Linked DNA regions of Homo sapiens: region 2 is linked to region 1. The links are contacts of gene promoters, found by promoter capture Hi-C in blood cells and fetal thymus (Javierre and others, 2016). All regions are on one chromosome and are shown on one strand. Each heading gives the region's core, a stretch centred on a gene start or on the middle of the fragment in contact. The rest is flanking DNA. Distances are from core to core; before and after follow the strand shown. Region 1 holds the start of PRG3 (proteoglycan 3, pro eosinophil major basic protein 2). Region 2 holds the start of OR9Q1 (olfactory receptor family 9 subfamily Q member 1).

Evidence for each region. The method cuts DNA at HindIII sites, captures the fragments that hold promoters and counts their contacts. A CHiCAGO score of 5 or more calls a contact.
Region 2: a contact is called between the fragment with the promoter of OR9Q1 here and the fragment with the promoter of PRG3 in region 1, in 2 of 17 cell types (non-activated CD4 T cells and fetal thymus). The highest score is 6.8, in non-activated CD4 T cells.

What each region holds. Positions count from the first base shown.
Region 1 is chr11:57,378,833-57,382,918 of GRCh38, forward strand. PRG3 (proteoglycan 3, pro eosinophil major basic protein 2) reads right to left here and starts at 2,318. Exons shown (of 6, transcript NM_006093.4): 1 at 2,282-2,318; 2 at 1,816-1,949; 3 at 662-975. The coding sequence starts at 1,876. RefSeq lists an enhancer at 507-1,706. The HindIII fragment of the contact is 3,099 bases long and covers 302-3,400 here.
Region 2 is chr11:58,021,782-58,025,867 of GRCh38, forward strand. OR9Q1 (olfactory receptor family 9 subfamily Q member 1) reads left to right here and starts at 2,100. Exons shown (of 3, transcript NM_001005212.4): 1 at 2,100-2,323. It overlaps LOC107984331 (a long non-coding RNA gene), which reads right to left and starts at 2,638. Exons shown (of 3, transcript XR_001748218.1): 1 at 2,306-2,638; 2 at 1,059-1,243. The HindIII fragment of the contact is 4,257 bases long and covers 1,045-4,086 here.

The DNA of each region.
Region 1 (4,086 bases), core at 1,068-3,567:
GAGAATTCCCTCTCATTTATTTCAAGTTTCTGAGTCTCCAGGCAAGAGCCCGGCATCCCTTTTCAGGTTAAAAATAAACCTACTTGCCTCCCTTAATCCTATCTTTTGCTTCTTAATTAGCTGTCAGGACAATCCTACAGGAAATGATAATACTCATAATAATTATAACCACCGCTTATTGAGAGTTTATTACAGCCCAGTGACTATTCCAAACACTTTTCATGTATTATCTCATTTAATGCTCACCACAACTCTAAGAAGTTGGTGCTATATATCTTCGTTTTACAAATGAAGGTGCTAAAGCTTTGAAAGGCAAAGCAACTTGCCCAGGTAACACAGCTAATAAAAGGCAGAACCAGAATTTAACACAGGCGTTTCTAACACCAAAGCCTTTTGTTTAAATCGGTGGTTCTCCCCAGACCAACAATATCATCATCACCTGGGGATTTGTTGTAAATGCAAATTCTCAGGCTTCACCTCAGCCCTCCTAAATCAGAAGTCGTGCAGGTGAGGCCCAGAAAGCTGTGTTTTAACAACAACTCCAGGTGATTCTGATGCATGCGAGGCTTTGAGAACCACTAGCCTAAATGAATAGGGAACAGAAGACTGAATGTACTCTCTTTTCCCCCAGGTCCTCCGCAGTAGCCTCCCTACTACTTACCTGAGCTTCTGCAAAAGTTTTAGGAGTCCGCACCAATAGGTAGCGGCAGATCTTGCACCTTGGACTTCCCTGCACTTCAACAATGTCTTCTTCCCTGGGGCACTGGAAGTCCTTGTCTAAGGCAGCTGGGTCCGACTCCATGGCTTCCTCATCCTCAAAGTTGTCTTGACAGGCAGAAGCCTTGACCTCCTCTCCCTCTGCCTGAATCACCTCCTCCGTCAGAGCCAAGTCTCTCTCCTGCTCCTTTGAACTATCCAGATCCTGGCCTAGGTCTGCCTGTGTCTCTAGGCTCTCCAGATGGGGGGCATCATTCTCTGGGAAGAAGAGGTAACCTGCCATCAGGTCAAGAGCTTCCTAGTTCCAGCACCGTGGACAGCTCCAGCAACGTCGCTCGAGCTTTCCTAGGAATTCCACCTGAAGACAAGACTGGAGGATTTCCTTGGTGTTAGGTAAGGAGAGATCTCTCGGGTCACACCCACAAATGGACAAGAACCTGACTTCTGGCCGACACCACGAGTGTGTGTTTTGAAGGTGGGAGAAAGCACGTGTGAGAAGCCTGGGGCAGTCACCAGCCCTTCATCTTAACAGGTGGGTGGTTTTTCCTTCTGAAAGTTCAGGTTACAGTTTGCCGGGTGCGGTGGCTCACGCCTGTAATCCCAGCACTTTGGGAGGCCGGGGCGGGCGAATCACAAGGTTAGGAGTTTGAGACCAGCCTGGCAAATATGGTGAAACCCCATCTCTACTAAAAATACAAAGATTAGCCAGGCGTGGTGGCATGTGCCTGTAGTCCCAGCTACTCAGGAGGCTGAGGCAGAAGAATTGCTTGAACCCGGGAGGCGGAGTTTGTGGTGAGCCGAGATCGCGCCACTGCACTCCAGCCTGGGCAACAGAGCGAGACTCCGTCTCAAAACAAAACAAAAAACAAACAAAAAAAAAAACAAAAACAACAACAACAAAAAAAAATCAAACAAAAAAGAGAAAGTTCCAGGTTACAGTTCTGAGTCCAAGTGATATCTTACCGGAGATGAGCTGTATCAGCTAAAGAGGGAAGGCTGTGGTCCTGGCCTCATGAGTGCAAATAAAAGCGGGGGGAGGGGAGTGTAGGAAAAAGGAAAAAAGGGAAAGACGCATGAGGAGGGAAGGGAGAGACTTACCCAGATGAAGAGCAGAAACTGTTCCCAGCAGGAGAAAGGGCAGGAGCAAGAGGCATTGCATATCTACTGTCTTTTAGCGAGGACACTACTCCACCGTCCTTCTTGGGGCTGTCTTTGTGTGTCTAGTATAGCCCCTGGCACATAGTATAGAGGGAATATTTGTTTAATTGTTTGATTAAAGAGCAAACAAGATTGCTTTCTCCTCTTGCCATGAACAGACCCTGAGCTGGAGAGTCTAGAAAAGGAATGGTGGGAGGGATAACTCAGGTACCAAATTTCATTTGTCTTCCAGTCTCCGTTGCTGCTCTCCAGTATCACCCTTAGCCCAGACTCCTGCCCCTGCGGGGACAGGTCTGCTTAGCTATGATGTTCCTAAGGACAGGCCTCCTACGTGTTTGCCCTATGAGGTGCTGCTTCTTCCCAGGGCCTACACTGGTCCTGCCTGGGCAGCCAGAAAAGAACTCACCTTCCAAGAGTCTGAGACCTCCACTCTCAGTGCCTCTGGCTTCAGGGGCCAGAAGCAGCCTTTATACTGGGTTTTTGGGGAAGTGGGAAGAGGCCAGAATGATTGCTCCAGGACAGAGTGGGGGACAAAGGAGCTGATAATGAAGTTTGCTCAGTCTTCTCAACCCTGTGCCCTGCTCTCTGCTGGGACTGCAGGGACCTGCCTCCTGGGGCCTACTGCCTTGTTTGGGTACCCCACACCCTGGTTTGCTTCAGAAGGCCCTAGATGTTATGTCCATTGTCCAGGCATAATTATTATTTATGCCCCCTAAAATGCCCCAGTCTGAACAACACGCCTTAACTCCAGGAGTAGCCTCCTGCTGGTGGAATCCCAGAGAGTGAAGTGGAGATCCCAGGGAGCTGGTGGGAGACAATGGGGGGAAGAAACAAGAGGGGAAAGGGAGGTTCAGTGCTCCCAAGCTCTCACCCATCCTAGGGGCATAGTGTGCAACACACCCCTCACCCTCATCTCCGCATCATCTCCACCAGGTACCACCCCTACTTCACAGAGGCAAAATGTGAGATTCAGAGAAAGAGAGAAGGCAACTTGCCAAGGTTCCATGGGAAGTGGAAGAACTGGAATTTCTAAGTCTTTTTGACTCCAAAACCTTCTCTCTTTCTTTCCTCTCTCTCTTTTTTCTCTCCCTTCCTCTTTCTCATCTTTTTTTTTTTTCTTTTTGAGACGGAGTCTTGCTCTGTCGCCCAGGCTGGAGTGCAATGGCAAGATTTTGGCTCACTGCAAGCTCCACCTCCCGGGTTCAAGCGCTTCTCCTGCCTCAGCCTCCCAAGTAGCTGGCTAATTTTTTGTATTTTTAGTAGAGATGGGGTTTCACTATGCTGGCCAGGCTGGTCTTGAACTCCTGACCTCGTGATCCACCCACTTCGGCCTCCCAAAATGCTGGGATTACAGGCATGAGCCACTGTGCCTGTCCTCATCTTTTTTTTTTTTAAGAGACAAAATCTTGCTCTGTCACCCAGGCTGGAGTGCAGTGCTGCGATGATAGTTCACTGTAACCCTGAATTCCTGGGCTCAAGTAATCCTCCTGCCACAGCCTCCTGAGTCACAGGGATTACAGGCACAAGCTTTCTCATCTTTAATGTGTGAAAAATCTACATCCTTTCTTCTGTGCTGTGGATCTAGATCAAGGTTCCTCAACTTTGTGCTATTAATATGTGAGGTCAAATAACTCTTTATTGTGGAGGGGCTGTCCTGGGCGTTGTAGAAAGTTTAATGGTCCCTCTGGTCTCTACTCACCAGATGTCAGTAGCCCCTCTCCCCACCCCCGCAGATGATCAAAAATGTCTCCACATGTTTCCAAATGTCCTCTGGGGAGAAAAATGGCCCCAGTTGAGGATCTCTGATCTAGGATATGCCACCTTGCCCAACCTCAAGGCATAGCTTCAGGGCTGGCAAACAGGCAGCATGAAAAGCTCCATACAGAGTCTCTCCAGCACTCTGTAGATCATCCTCTCCAACCAACACTCCCCTCCTCACCTCCCATCTCCCACCAGTCTTCTGTCACCCCAGGGTCTGGACTAGAATCAGGCAGGGGAGGCTCTCAACTCAGACACACTAAGAAATTAAGGGGACACTAAGAAATTTACTATTCAAGATAAATAACATTTTAATGCAACATTTCTTAAAAATTGAAATTAATGCAAAACAAAACATCAAAATTTTAACTGACCAAGCTCTAGACAAAATTTGCTGCACTTTAAAGAGAGGCCAGCATGTCTCAAGCCTTGAATTTGCCAGATGTCTCTGCC
Region 2 (4,086 bases), core at 850-3,349, 640 kb after region 1:
GGTTCTGGGCATGCTTGGCCTTGGTGTTTCACCCAGAGAAGACACTAGGAAACTAGAGAAGCAGTGGGAGGCAGGTACGTGGCTCCTCTAGAGGCCTATATCCAAAGAGCATGCAAGGCGTGGTGTATGGAAGGAATGTTATCAATCAAATGGATACCAAATCTAGAGGTATGATTCCTGACTTTGGTATAGCCCAATCTTTTCTTCAGAGTTTTCCCAGTTTGTAATCTCATTTTTTGTTGTTCAAAACCTCTTTTTTTTTTTTAAAAAAAATTATTTATTTTATTTATTTTTGAGTCAGAGTCTCATTCTGTCACCCAGGCTGGAGTGCAGTGGTGTGATATCGGCTCACTGCAACCTCCACCTCCTGGGTTCAAGCAATTCTGCCTCAGCCTCCTGAGTAGCTGGGATTACCATGTGTATGCCATCATGCCTGGCTAGTTTTGGTATTTTTAGTAGAGACAGGGTTTCACCATGTTGGCCAGGCTGGTCTCGAACTCCTGACCTCAAGTGATCCACCCACCTCGGCCTCCCAAAGTGCTGGGGTTACAGGTATGAGCCACCACACCCGGCCCAAAAGCTCTTTTACAGAGTCATTGTGGTTTTAAATATCAATTCAGTTTTCAAGTGAGAAAATGGAGGCACACAGAATTCAACTGATTTGCTTAAGCTCTTATAGAGTAGGGGTGCCGAGGGACTTTGTGGGGTTTTAGTTCTCCTTCATCTCCATCTGCCTCCTCAAGCCACCTCAAACCTACAATCTAAACAAAATCAATTTGCTTTTGTTATTCCAGGGCAGCTTCATGACCATTCCCAGAGTCCCACCAGATGGCCATTCCCATGCTGTCCCTTTATTGAAATTCTGTGGTCATCGCATAGTCCATAAGCAATAGAAGCAAAAGAGTAAGCAGGTTTTACCAGAGTGTACCTTTAAAGTTTCAAAGAACCCGCACATCCACTATCTCATCAATTCACAGAATGTTCTGAGAGACAACAAGAATAGATATTATTGCTGCCTAGAGATTAAGAGCTAGAAGCTCAGAAAGCTTGATTCTCACCTTGGTTCCTGTCTGCTATAGTGGACTCTCTGGCTTGGTTTGGGTCTGGGGTCTCTGTCACATATATGGCTGGAGAAGCCTCCCACTTATTTTCTTATACCTCAGTTTCCCATTTGTTCCCATCATAGGCAGACTATATGTCAGTAGCTTTGAGGAACAGATTGTATCTGCTCAGTATTGAAGTCCTGGAATAATGAGAGAAGCGCCCAGTTAATTGATCAGATTTTATTTTAGGAATATCACCCTCCCTGGGGAGGTGGTATGATGGAAAGATGGTGGGCTCTGGAGTCAGACTGGGCTGGATTCTCATCTGGACTCTGTCACTTACTAGCTGGTTGAAGCAGGGATTTTGAGAGCCCCACATACTAGGTCCTTTCCTCTTCCCAGCTACCTGGCAACTAAGCAAACCTAGGGCTTGGTGGAACAGAGTTTGAAAACAGCTGATAGAGTACAGCTTTCCGGGAAATTTAGAATTAAATTCTGTAGCTAAGAAAAAGAAATTATATGTAGAAATCAATTCAATTTGCCTCCCACCCAAGGCCATGAGAGCAGGCTGCTCCAGATATACAAGACATCATTCCTGCAGGCATTGTCAGTCTTGTAGTCCGTTGACAGTAATTGCATGGACAACACCCAAATTGATTGACTTTTCTGTAAGTATTGTTGAACTTCCTTTTCCTTAAATTTCCTTAAAAACAGGTAGCTAGAAATGGAAAGGAAACTAAGTACGCTGCCAACGTACAATCAGGAGCATGCAGCCACCCTTTTATTACATCAGTATATATTTATTGCATGTAGACTACATGTCAGTGACTTTGGCATTAGCAACACAGTAATGAACAAACAAACAAAGGCACTATCTTCAAGGAGCTTCCTTTTGTGTGTGTGTGTGTGTGTGTGTGCGTGATGTTATAGACAAACAAATAAATATCTACCAGATGGCAATGAAGCTGTGACCCAAAAAATCAAACTGAGAAGAGGGTCAGAGAGTGAAAGGAACTGCGTTTTCAGATAGGTGGTCAGAAAGGGCCTCTCTGTTAAGGTGGCCCTTGTGCAGGGAATTGAAGAAGTGCAGGAGGATGCCACACAGAGATGGTAGAGGGAGCGAAAGGAGCAAAGGCCCTAACTTTCCCTTAATGATGTCTCCTTCCATCTTTAGTCCAGCCCAGCAATGTACATGTTATCCTTCCCGTTTGAAGATGAAGACACTGAGGCTCAGAAAGATCAAACGCCTTTCCCAAACTCACAGCTACGGCCTGACGGAGGTAGGGTCAAATGCAGCTCCACTGATTTCAGAGACGGTGCTGTTAACACAGGGGGCTGTCTGCATGTTGGAAAGTGAGATGTGCTGTTGCTGTCACGTTGCAGTGGGAGTGGGGAAGCAGGCTGTGATGAGCTAGACCCAAGAGGAATCAGAGAGCAGGTCTCCGGGCTTCATCCTGGGCATCTCCTAGCCCCGCTGTCTGTCTCATAACACCCACCCACTGCGCCTGCTCACCTCGGTTTGTTGGCTGTTTTTTTTTGAAATCATTTCCTGGATCTTAGTAAGTTTATTTTCCAGTTCCTTTCACTTTTTGGGACTAGGCCCCCAGATGCCAGGTGGAGAGAACTGAAAGAGGGAGAAATCCAGCGTTTCTCACCAGGCTTGTCACGTAGCTACACAAGCAAATAGCTACAGGAACCAAGTTTCAATTTTCGTGCATGGGCCTCAAACTGTTTTTCCATATTTGTTAGGGAAAATCTTGGCCAGGGAGCACCGTCTTTTGAGGACACCAAATTGGGCCAAGTTCCTGTGCGGCCTTTCTCCTTATTTAGTGATTGCCCCGTGTGACCCTCTCCTCTCTGGCTGACCTCTTTTTTCCTGCATGGCACTTGGTGGATAAAGTTCCCTGAACCTTGGAGAGGAAGCGGATGCTGTTAATAGCCCTGGGAGTGTGACTGTGCTTTGCAGCTCACTGGAGCCTGTGGGATATTCCTCCAGCCTTGGCGGGGCTCCGAGCTGCAGGGAAATTAACCTCAGAGTCAGGGCAGGGAGCCAGGGTTGCAGGCACGTTGTCATTGGGTGAAATGAGATGGCAGAGGAAAATGGCACGGTGTGGAGGCTTTTTTTGTCAGAAGCTCTGGGGTTTGGCTCTTCTCTGTGCCATGTAGTTCTTTGATCTTGCCCAAGTTTACTTACTGTCTCTCTGAGCCTTCAGTGATTTCAATTGCGTGAAAACCAAGACAAATAACACCTCTATATCAAGAATAGTTCATAGGATCATAGTACAATATTGTGGGGATTAAGCCAGATGGTATCAGCCCATCAGAATCTAGCCCATGGGAGGGGCTCCGTAAATGACCCTTTCTTTTTGAGACGGAGTCTTGCCCTGTCGCCAGGCTGGAGTGCAGTGGCGCGATCTCAGCTCACTGCAACCTCCGCCTCCCGGGTTCAAGAGATTCTCCTGCCTCAGCCTCCTGAGTAGCTGGGGTGCCCGCCGTGCTACTATAGGGTGTGTCCTACAGGCGCACGCCACCATGACCAGCTACTTTTTGTATTTTTGGTAGAGACGGGGTTTCACCGTGTTGGCCAGGATGGTCTTGATTTCTTGACCTTGTGATCCGCCCGCTCAGCCTCCCAAGGTGTTGGGATTGCAGGCGTGAGCCACTGCGCCCGGCCTCCTTTCTCCCTTTTTGGAGAGAAGCTCATCTTCCTACCAACACATGACCCGAAGACGTGTTGGGGCAGGGGGGAAGAGGAGTAGAATTTGGATGCTCTGGAACTCTCGCTCAGAAAGAGTTTCTCATTAGACTTGTCTCTGATGACTTCAATGATTCCATCAGATATTCATTCCGTTGGGTTAGGCATTGCCTCCCATCTAGGTTGCTTTCATTTGATTTCAGTTAGAAGGTGGTGGAGCTGAGATTTGAAGGCATCAGGTGGTCTAATGCCTGAATGTAGCCTTAACCACTGTGCTCTCCTGACTCTCTCCGTGGACCTCACAACCTCTTCTAACAATTCCTCTGGGCATATTACCTACTTCCACCT